2 separate regions of the Homo sapiens genome follow, and region 2 is linked to region 1. The links are contacts of gene promoters, found by promoter capture Hi-C in human tissues and cell types (Jung and others, 2019). All regions are on one chromosome and are shown on one strand. Each heading gives the region's core, a stretch centred on a gene start or on the middle of the fragment in contact. The rest is flanking DNA. Distances are from core to core; before and after follow the strand shown.

Region 1 (4,903 bases), core at 1,183-3,682:
GCCCCAGGCTCCTCATCTATAAAGCAGGTATAATAACGCTGGCTTTGCAGGGTTGCCGCAAGGATTAATGAGACAACCTTTGAAGTATCTAAAGTAGGTCTTTTCACACAGAACTTACTCTTGTTATTCTTGCTTCAATTCCCTTCAAAGCTGGTGGAATAATTTGGAATTGGCCCTTTTAGATTTTGGACATGGTGTATTTTATGAAGACAGATGTATTCAAAATATACTGTGATGAGGAGAAATAGAAAGTTATTCAAGTAATCTAGGAACTGGCACAGAAGGCCCTTGAACATATTTCTTCTAATGTTGTTTCCCTATAACGCTGATGAGAAAAAAAATTGATCCCCAGCAGGGGCCACTGTCTGTTTGGAGTTTGCACGTCCTCCCCATGTGCTGTGGGTTTCCTCCAGGTACCCCGGGTTCCTCCCACATCCCAAAGCTGTGCACGTGAGGCTCACTGGGGCGTCCCCGTCTGAGTGAGTGTGAGTGTGCCCTGCCATGGGATGCCGTCCTCTCCAGGACTGTTGCCCGCCTTGGTCCTGAGCTGCCTGGATGGGCTCAGCCCCCTGCCACCCTGAACTGGAATAAGCAGGTTGGAAAATGAAAGGATACAAATTATTGTCAAATAAAAACTCGTAAAGCATACGGTATTCACACAGAGATGCAGGACAATACCCGATGCAGTAAGAAAGGCCCAGCGGGCTGAGAAGTGGCTCCTGTTTGTTTTGAAACTGCATGGTAGGGGGAGGTGCTTCAGAGCTTTGGCTTGGCCAACATTATCTTTAACACAGCCCCTCCACAACCCGGTCACTCATGGATTCACCAGAAATTGGGTAATGATATTTCTTAAATGTAGAGCTCATATGTACTTCAGTGTTTCATATTAGAAGTGCTTTGGTCTTTATTTAGAAGTTTGGCGATGTTTTTGTGACCAGGAATGTGCTGTGGGAACTTTCCTCTTATTTATATCAATTAACCTATGGTGAAACTGGTTTCCTTGTACACTGCATGGCTTAAAGCTCCAGTTTCTAAGAACCTATGGATGATGTTAAGTGAAGACTTACTGTGTTGAGGGCCTAACTCTAAAAATAGAAAGAAATTAATCCAAAATGTATTTCTAAGGACTAACACTTGTATTAAATTACTCCAACCGAAAGAACAAACTCACTAAGGCGTGAGTGGAGAGATAGAAAAGCACAGTGGAACCAAATCTCTGAGATATCCAGGGTTAGAAGTAAAAACGTCAGTCGCTGCTCAAGTCCTGGAGGCTTTGATGATGGTTCTTACTACAGCCCTTTTCTGTTCCCGTTCAATTCTGGCATCAAGAGATGTTTGAAATAAGTTCCACCCTGTATCTCATCAAGACAACTGAACTTGGAGAAATGGTGGAATTTAAAATACTGAAAGATCACTGCCAGAATTTTCTCAGTTCCTGCTTCCAAAATGCCTATAACCTGCAGAAGATACAGTTTGCATCACACTAAAAATGGTCCGGTCATAGCTGCAGTCTGCAATTTAATCTCAAGTTTCTACACAGTAGACCACTGTCATTAATATCAAGGTAAGAGCTTTTAAAACCTATACTCTCTTAAAGTCCTACGGTATCATTAAGTTTTAGAGTTTAAAATTCAGAATTTAAAGGTATTGAAAACCCTTCAAGTACCTACTCCAACTCCACTTTATAAATGAGAAAACCAAATACCAGGTGAGTCCTTCAATATATAATGAGCCTGCGGCACTGGTAGGGTTAGAAACGTAACCCTTGCCCAGTATTGAAAGCTAAGATTAACAGGAACCCGTTGCTTTGTAAATCCCAGTATTAAACGCTCAAGAGGCAGAGCTTGGTGGCAAAAACGATCACTGGGGTGCCAAAGCGAGTAACCTCAGCTAATTAAACACGCTCAATAAAAATACACGAGACCAAGCCTACGACGTAAAGATGCAATCCTACGTAGGGTCTTGGTGTTATCTCCTGCCTTCTGAACCCCGCTGACCGTTTTCTGAGGTTCCACTCATGCAGGAAGCGCGCGGTGACGAGGCTCCAATTCCTCTCAAAGCTGACACCACCCTGCACCTGGGGCCCCTGATGGCAGCCGGTCCTACCGGGTTCTAAAATTACCGACGTGGGATCACTGTTCTAAGGCTTTAGGCAGCCGTAAATTCGTACCCCTCAGATAGAAGGAGCTGTGGAAACTAACCAGGACCCCGAGTCCCCCAAGGAGGCTGCGCGCCGCTACGGGACCCGACCTCGCCTCACAGCTGCGGCCATCGCCGGCCCGGCTCGGAGGAGGCGAAAGCGAGGCCGCGGACGGCCCTCACCCCGAATCCATGGACCCCGCCCGCCTGGCGGGCCACCCTTCTTTCCGTCCCTCCCCCGAAGCCTCTCCGTGCCTCGACTCCTCCGCGAACACCGGAACCCAGGGACGTCTGCCCCTTTTCCCTCAGGCAACTCCCTGGCCGCCCACCGTTGCCGTAGCAACGCCCGCCTCCGCGCTCGCTCCCCGCGGGCTTGCTCACCAGCCCTGCCCCGCCCCGCCCCATACTGCGCATGCTCGCCAGCCCCGCCCGGCCCACATTGCGCATGCTTGCCAACCACGCCCTGTCCACACCACACTGCGCATGCTCGCCGGCCCCCGCCCCGCGCACGGCGTCAGCGTCTAGACGCAGGTGCGTTCCCGTCGAGGCTCGCGCAGCGGGCGTTTTTGGGGATCGCCTGGCGGGGGTGTTCGGGAGCCGCGGGCTGAAGCACGGGGGCGTGCAGGCGCCCAGGCCTCGTGTAGTGAGGGCCGAGCCCCGCGCCGGCTTCGCTGTAGTCCGCAGCCCCCGGCGGCTTTGTGGGCGCAGCCACGCTCCTCAGCCGCCCGCCCACCTGGGCCTGGGCCCCGGTTGTTTCCCTGCGGTGGCTGTGGTCGTTCCCGTTCCAGGGTCTCGAGCGCACCGCCCCTTCGCTGCGCTGTTAGTCGAGGGCAGTTTTCTGGGGGATCCCCCGATCCCCCCGCGCCGCTCAGGCGTCTTGGCTCGCGGAAGCGCAGGCGCCGACTGCCTGGCGTCGTCCGTGACTCCTGGCCCTTCTCTGTGGATCCCTTTGCTTCTCGTTGCGGGTTGTGTTTCCTGCTTCGTGGGCCTGGCCGTTTGCGTTTGGATGCAGGCCCGGGTGAGCCCTGCGTGGCCCGCTGGCCTTTTCCTGCTCCCTAGGTGACTGAGCCGCGTGTGTGACACATCGGAGTGAATTGAGGCAACGCGTTCCTTTCCAGGCTTGCAGCGGGCGGTGTCGTTCACGCTCCTGAGCAGAGCCTTCCGGTGCTTTACTCGACGCCACAAATAGTGCAGGGTTCCTCCCAGGGGCTGTCGCGAGCTAGAACTCTTCCCCGCCCCTGTGAGCTCGGGCTGTTCTTCCTCCTCCGCGTGGCTCACTCCAGCCTCGGATGTTTCCTCGCTGCACAGACCTGCTCGGGAAGACTCGAGAAGGCCACCCCAGGACTCCAGCTCTCCCCGGAAGGGCTTCCCCTCGGATTGCGTCTTGGCCCCTGGAACCCTCCCTCTGTATCCTCTGCTGTTCCTCTCTTGGCCTCCATTTGGGTTGTGGCCTGGATACTCTGGCTCGCTGCTTCCCTTCTCTTAAGGATCACAGCCCTGCACTGCCTGTCGTCCGGTGCCTGGAAACCATTGTATTTTTTGGTCTGATTTTGTAGTTGTTTGAGAACTTAAGTCTGGTCCCTCACACTCCATGCCCAGAAGCAGAAATGAGTAAAGTTTGTTTTATCTTTTCTTAATATGACAATTATTGTGTTGGTTCAACTTATGTTGTACTTTAATTAGAAGAAATTTGGCCGAAAATACAAGGAAAATATACAAATGCAAGTAATTTTTTTTAAACTTCCCTGAAAGCAGGGTCTAAAGAAATTACCAACCAACTTAGACTGGATCTAGAAGAAAAGGAAGGGTCTTTGCAGTCTTAGGACTCTTCCGTTCCGCGACGTAGGTGTTAGGATAACAGCCATAAATGGTTGTAAGACTTTGGGCTCAGATAAGTAGACTTAAGTTCAAATTTTGACTTATTTTACAAGTGTGTGATTTTTGGCAAGCTCATCTTCCTAAACCATGAGCTCCTTATTTGTAAAGGGGACATTAGCCACTCTCCAGCAACAGCCCTGGTACTTCTTCAGTCCTGGGATGGGACGTATGATTAGCCTAAGCGAACCAGAAAATCCAGGCCCGTGACCAGTGACTTGATCAGGGCTGGCGATATATCTAGGTAGGCCAACCAGGTGGACTCAGTATTTTTGTGGGTGCTACTGGAAAATTTATTTAATTCTAACTGAATGTAGAAACAGCAACAGACATGAAATGGCAGTTGTATTGCTGTCTTATCATGAGGTGAGGGCCTGAAGCTATGGTAGCCACCCTGTGAACCTTGGAAGGAGGGTTCTACAGGAACTGGCAGAGCTGAGACTGGGACGCAACCCATGTCCTGGTGACGTATTTGAGTCCTGAGGCTGGCCCTCCTGTTAGTCTTTTCTCTTACTGGCTTCAGCCAGATGGGGTCTGGTTTTCTGTTACTTGCAACAGGAAAAATTGGAATGATATCTATGCATGCTATTACCGCCTTATGGCTGTGGTGAGATTAAAACATGATACTGTGGGTGAACTGCTTAGTACAGTGCCTGCTATTCTTTATGTTGGTTTTAAGGTATTTTTCTTGAACTTTAAAGTTCTAAGAAAAATTACCGTTTTAAAATTCCTACCCTCTGTTCACATGTTTAAATTTTCATGATAGTTTTTCTGTCTGCATGTTTTCTATTCAAAATAAATTGGTCATTCTTCAGTTAGCCACGAAGAATATTGTGAATTTTTTATTTTTAAATTTATTTTTTATTGATACATATTAGATGAACATGTT
Region 2 (4,903 bases), core at 1,668-4,167, 150 kb before region 1:
AAAGGACATTAGGACAGTTACAAACCTTTATGTTTATTCAAAACTGCAGTAGTTAGGGACGGCTCTGCTCCCTGTGCCCACTGCCAGCTCAGAGGTAGTCTCTGCATGCAGCTCTGCAGCGTGAGCAGCTCTGAGAGCAGAGGGGTTGTGTTTCTTCATCACCACATCTCCACTGCTTGGAAATGAAGGTGTTGAGAAAGCATTAGTTGCCTACTTTCAAAAACATTGAATTATAATGGCAAACAGTTCATTGAATTTATCCTTGACGTAAATTTTATCTTTGACTCTTGATTTTATAAACTTTTGTAATGATTATCACCATCATTTTGAAACTCAGTTTTAAATTTTATTTTTTTACCTGTAAAAAATATGATCTGACATGTTGGGCCAAATACCCTCCCAATGACATACCTAACAGGGCTCTGTCTTTTGCTAAATCTGTTCTTATTTTACTTGCCATTTTGTGCCAGGGAGGAAAAGGTCACTTAAGATTGCCAGTCTCTGTGACTTTTTCTTTCCCACTTGGAATTGTTTACCAAAATTTCTGTGATGTAGTGATTTTTTAAAATCCTGGAATTAAGTCAGCTCTGCCACTTGGATGCTCTACAGCTGTGGCAAGTTGCATAGCCTGCTCCTCTTCTGTCATCTTGGGGCAGTAATGCTACCTGCCTCATGGGATTGCTGTGGCAAGTAAATGAGTTCGGATAATGTCTGTAAATCACTTAGAATAGTGCTTGGCACATAAGGGCTCAATAAATGCTAATTATTATTTTTAGGGTTTTTATGAGGCTTAAATTAAATGGGATTATGCATGTAAAATGTTCAGTAGAGTATCTGGCATTTATTAGGGGCTCAATAAATGCTAGTGGCTCTAATTTAAATATTCCGGTGCCTATATGTCTAAAGAGGCTGTGCCTTTGGATCTCTGCACACGTCATATTTTTAGTGAATTTACTTTAGGGCATGGAAAAAAACATTAGTTTCTATACTGACTTTTCCCAATAGGTACAAGTTACAATGTTAAAAAAATTTAAATAAATACATACTATAATTATTTTATGATTTCTAAGTTTAGGTCATTTGTTACTTTTTGTTTATTTTTACTATTTAAAAGTATAGATCTTGATTAATACCACAATTTCAATATCTAACCTGTTTTTCTTCTTTTCTTGTTACCCTTTTTATAGGTTTGTGGAATCTTGCTTCCCTTTTTTCCAACCTTTGTTTATTTGTATTGATGCCCTTTGCCTTTTTCTTTCTGGAATCAGAAGGCTTTGCTGGCCTGAAAAAGGTAAGTGAATCTAGTATTGGAATTAAATTGGTTAAGTGAGGAATTAAATATCATTCACATTGAACTAGAAAAAGCAGACTTAAATTATTTAAATGGAATATAAAAAATGCGTAGTAAATAATATTGATAACACATTGTTAACAATAACAGTAATTCTGCATATTGAATTACTTTGCATGTCCATGAGAGAGAGACATCTTTTAGACCTGTGAGTACTTTTACAGTATGCATACATCTAGTGTAATGGATAAACCTGATATAATAGCTTTTATTCTTTCCTTAGGGTATCTTATTTAGTTTAAGGTGACAGTAAAGTGTTATTTCCATGGGCTCCCCTTTCTGTTATCTAGCTGTTATTCCATACGTTAACAGTCTGCAGCTGAAAACTGACAGCTGATTTCACATTTAGTAAATATACCAGGATCAGAATGAATGACTCTGGCAGTCAAACCTGACATTAAGAAAACTGGCTTTTATGCATTGGAATTTAAAAAATCATGATGTATTCTTAAGACAGGCAATTAAAATTTAGTCAATGGCCGGGTGCAGTGGCTCACACCTGTAATCCACCACTTTGGGAGGCTGCGGCAGGAGGGTTGCTTGAGGCCAGTTTTTCGAGACCAGTTTGGGCAACACAGTGAGACCCTGTCTGTACTAAAAATAAAAAAATTAACTGGGTGTGGCGATGGGTACCTGTGGTCCCAGCCCCTCTGGAGACTAAGGTGGGAGGATTGCTTGAGCCTGCAGGTTGAAGCTGTGGTGTGAGCTGTGATTGCGTCACTGCACTCCAGCCTGTCTCAGAAACAAACAAAAACCAAGAATAAACAACAAGAAGAAAGGAGGTCATTGTAGACTCTTGAGAAGGCAATTTCTGTAGAATTTTGGAAACATAACTTTTGATGGATATTCATTCATTCAACAGAGAATGAATTTTATTGAGAATTCAGTTTTATTAACCAATTCCTTAAGTAGCAGTTATTATGCTCTTTATAGGAGCTTGCTGGGGACACAGATGAAAAGATGGGCCTCTGGCCTTCAAGGGTCGGACAGTGGGAGAAATGACAGATGTAAACAAATAAGATGCAGTTTGAAGCCCTTTTATATAATGAAGTCCTATGGGAAACCCTGAAAGGAAAGGATATCTTGATTTTCCTGGGGAATCTGAGCAGGCTTCACAGGGGAAGTCAATCTGGACTTGGGCTGGGACTTGAAGGATGAGCAGGGGTTTGCTAGAGTGTGGCATTCCAGGCTTGAGCAAAGGCCTAGAGCTCTGACAGTATTGAGGGAATGGCCGGTACTTAGATACTGGAGAATGGTGAGAGATGAGGGTGCACAAGCCGCTTGCCAGGGTCGAATTCTGGAGGCCTGGAGTCCTCCATCTGGTCATTTGAGTTTTATGTTGTAGGCAACAGAGAAGCCAGAATAGGATTTTTGAAAATAATTTTTTTTCATCTACCACTTGAGTATATTTAGAGATAAATATGCATTTTAGACTTTGTGCAGGTCACAAAGGAAAGGAGTACAAAGGAGTACATGCCCCACACAGTGCAGAACACTGATCTGTAGACACGGCACCGAATCAGTCCTGCACCTGACTCTGTGACATTGCCTGCCGACGTTTGCTTTCAATAAGCAAAGTTCTTCCCTCTTCCTGACACTACCTCTTGTGTAATAGTACCACATACAAAAAACAAATGATAAAGCTTGGTGTGAACTATATTTTCATATTTGACATTATAAACAGTATCTACCTAATTTATACTTTTTATAACAATCTAGTTGAATAGATTGTTATTTACAATAACAGGGTGTAATATGGACAAACTCTTTGCCTCCAAGTTATTTTCTTCCCTTCTTGTGAATTAACCAACTAGGAAAGGGACTTGGCTAAATCTGTTTGAAGAATTAGCAACAATCTCCAGAATTAAAAAAGAAAAAAATGACAAAAAATCCCAGTGACATGTCATTTTTCTCCTGTTCCCCCTTACAGACTTAAGGTCAAAGGGAGAATCAGCTGAGGAGGGATCATAGAAGTTAATTAGAGATATTTCACACATACGATTGTACAGCACTTACTTCCTCTATTTTAAAAAAATTTTTAGTCTTTTTATACATGATTAATATTCTTTTCTTAGCACATCTTTGACCATGTTAGTTGCCTAAAAATCACTCGAGGGTCACCAGCTGTGTTTCTTGACCTCAAATGGGACTGAAATATTGAATGACTGTAGGATACAGGCAACTATGAATCCAATTAATTCCCAAACACAGCAGAAGGTGGAGCCCCGGACGACTGCCATTTGTCCAACTTGGGAAGTTGTAATAGGTGCTGCAGAAAACCAAATTAAAGAATTTGGTTGTTAATGCCGTTAAAGGAAGGAGGGAGATGGGATTCTAGCTTGAAGGTAGGGAAAGAGGCCAGCGGAAGATGGTGAAGCTGCAACCGTGAGAAAATTTGGCATCAGTCAGACTGCCTGGGAGGTGACTTCATCTAAACCGCGGGGTTGCTTTCTATAAAATGGGTGTAATAATGATCTTTACTTTATTGTATCATTTTGGTGATTAAATGAGATGTGATTATTCATGTAATGCACATAGCCCAGGACTTCATTTAGTAAATTAGCTATTATTAAATTACCTTTATCTTCGAGGTAGTCTTTAAATGCATTTGACTAATAAGTATTCTATAAAATATCACTAATCACTAATAAGTTTTCTAGAATACTTATTATCACTAAATATTCTATAAAATATGAGCCTCAGAAAGCAAGCAACTGAATACAGTACAGTCATCTTTTAATTCCTCACAGATTATTATCTCAGGCGGTTTTAAAATATGTTTCCCATTTTGCAATGGCATGTACTGAAGTAGAATAACTCAGCTTGAGCATTACAGCTAGCATACTTTGAAACAAACTTGTTTGAAGATAAGGTGTGTTCTAGATCCTAGTAGAAATGTTTAGAAAGTTTTAAAATTAAGCTAATCAAGACATGTTATTTTAAAATATTCATATTTTTCGGTTTTAAAATCAGTCACATGAAAGTTGGAAAGGTTACTAATATTGTGTCGTTAAGTCTAAATGTGTTAAGCATACATTTGAGCCCTTTCATGTTGTATATTTCTGTAGTCTAGAATCATTTGTTAACTACCTGTGTAAGTTCTAAATAACATTTTTAAAGATACATGGTTCTTTACACAGTGCTTATTAGAATTAACTTCGTTGCTTTATTGAAATTAATGTTATGATTGATCACAGTCATTAGAATGTTTAACATATTTGGCGAATAAGTACATATATTTATGTATATTCCTTTAAAGCTGCTTGCTCATCGATTACATTTGACACATATAGTTGCTGAAGTGATACTGAAGAGAGGCTAGAAACATTTCTAATGGGTAGATTCAGCGCACTAATTTGAGCAATGACAAACTTGTAATATGGTTAAGTAAAATTTCCTTTTTTTTTTTTTTTCCTGTGGCCACCCTCCTGGTGCTGTTTTACTGTGTCTAAGTCTGGTGTATCCCTAAATGGCATATGGCCCCACTCTACTCCCATGGATTCCCCTGGGCAATCGATGTTCAAACAGCTTCTTGCATATTGTGCCGAGATG

Evidence for each region. The method cuts DNA at HindIII sites, captures the fragments that hold promoters and counts their contacts. A contact is called where the count stands out against the background at its distance.
Region 2: a fragment that was not itself captured here is called in contact with the fragment with the promoter of RNF32 in region 1 in 1 of the 25 tissues and cell types used here (adrenal gland).

Annotation. Positions count from the first base shown.
Region 1 is chr7:156,638,303-156,643,205 of GRCh38, reverse strand. It overlaps RNF32 (ring finger protein 32), which reads right to left and starts at 2,432. Exons shown (of 9, transcript NM_030936.4): 1 at 2,395-2,432. RNF32-DT (RNF32 divergent transcript) reads left to right here and starts at 2,671. Exons shown (of 4, transcript NR_026865.2): 1 at 2,671-4,258. RefSeq lists a silencer at 2,532-2,841 and an enhancer at 2,410-3,001. The HindIII fragment of the contact is 17,064 bases long and covers 1-4,903 here.
Region 2 is chr7:156,792,777-156,797,679 of GRCh38, reverse strand. It overlaps LMBR1 (limb development membrane protein 1), which reads left to right. Exons shown (of 17, transcript NM_022458.4): 5 at 1,188-1,291. Among named protein-coding and RNA genes, the nearest start is that of LMBR1, 98 kb to the left of the region's middle. RefSeq lists a cis regulatory region at 4,898 and enhancers at 4,646-4,903, 4,601-4,903. The HindIII fragment of the contact is 4,863 bases long and covers 486-4,903 here.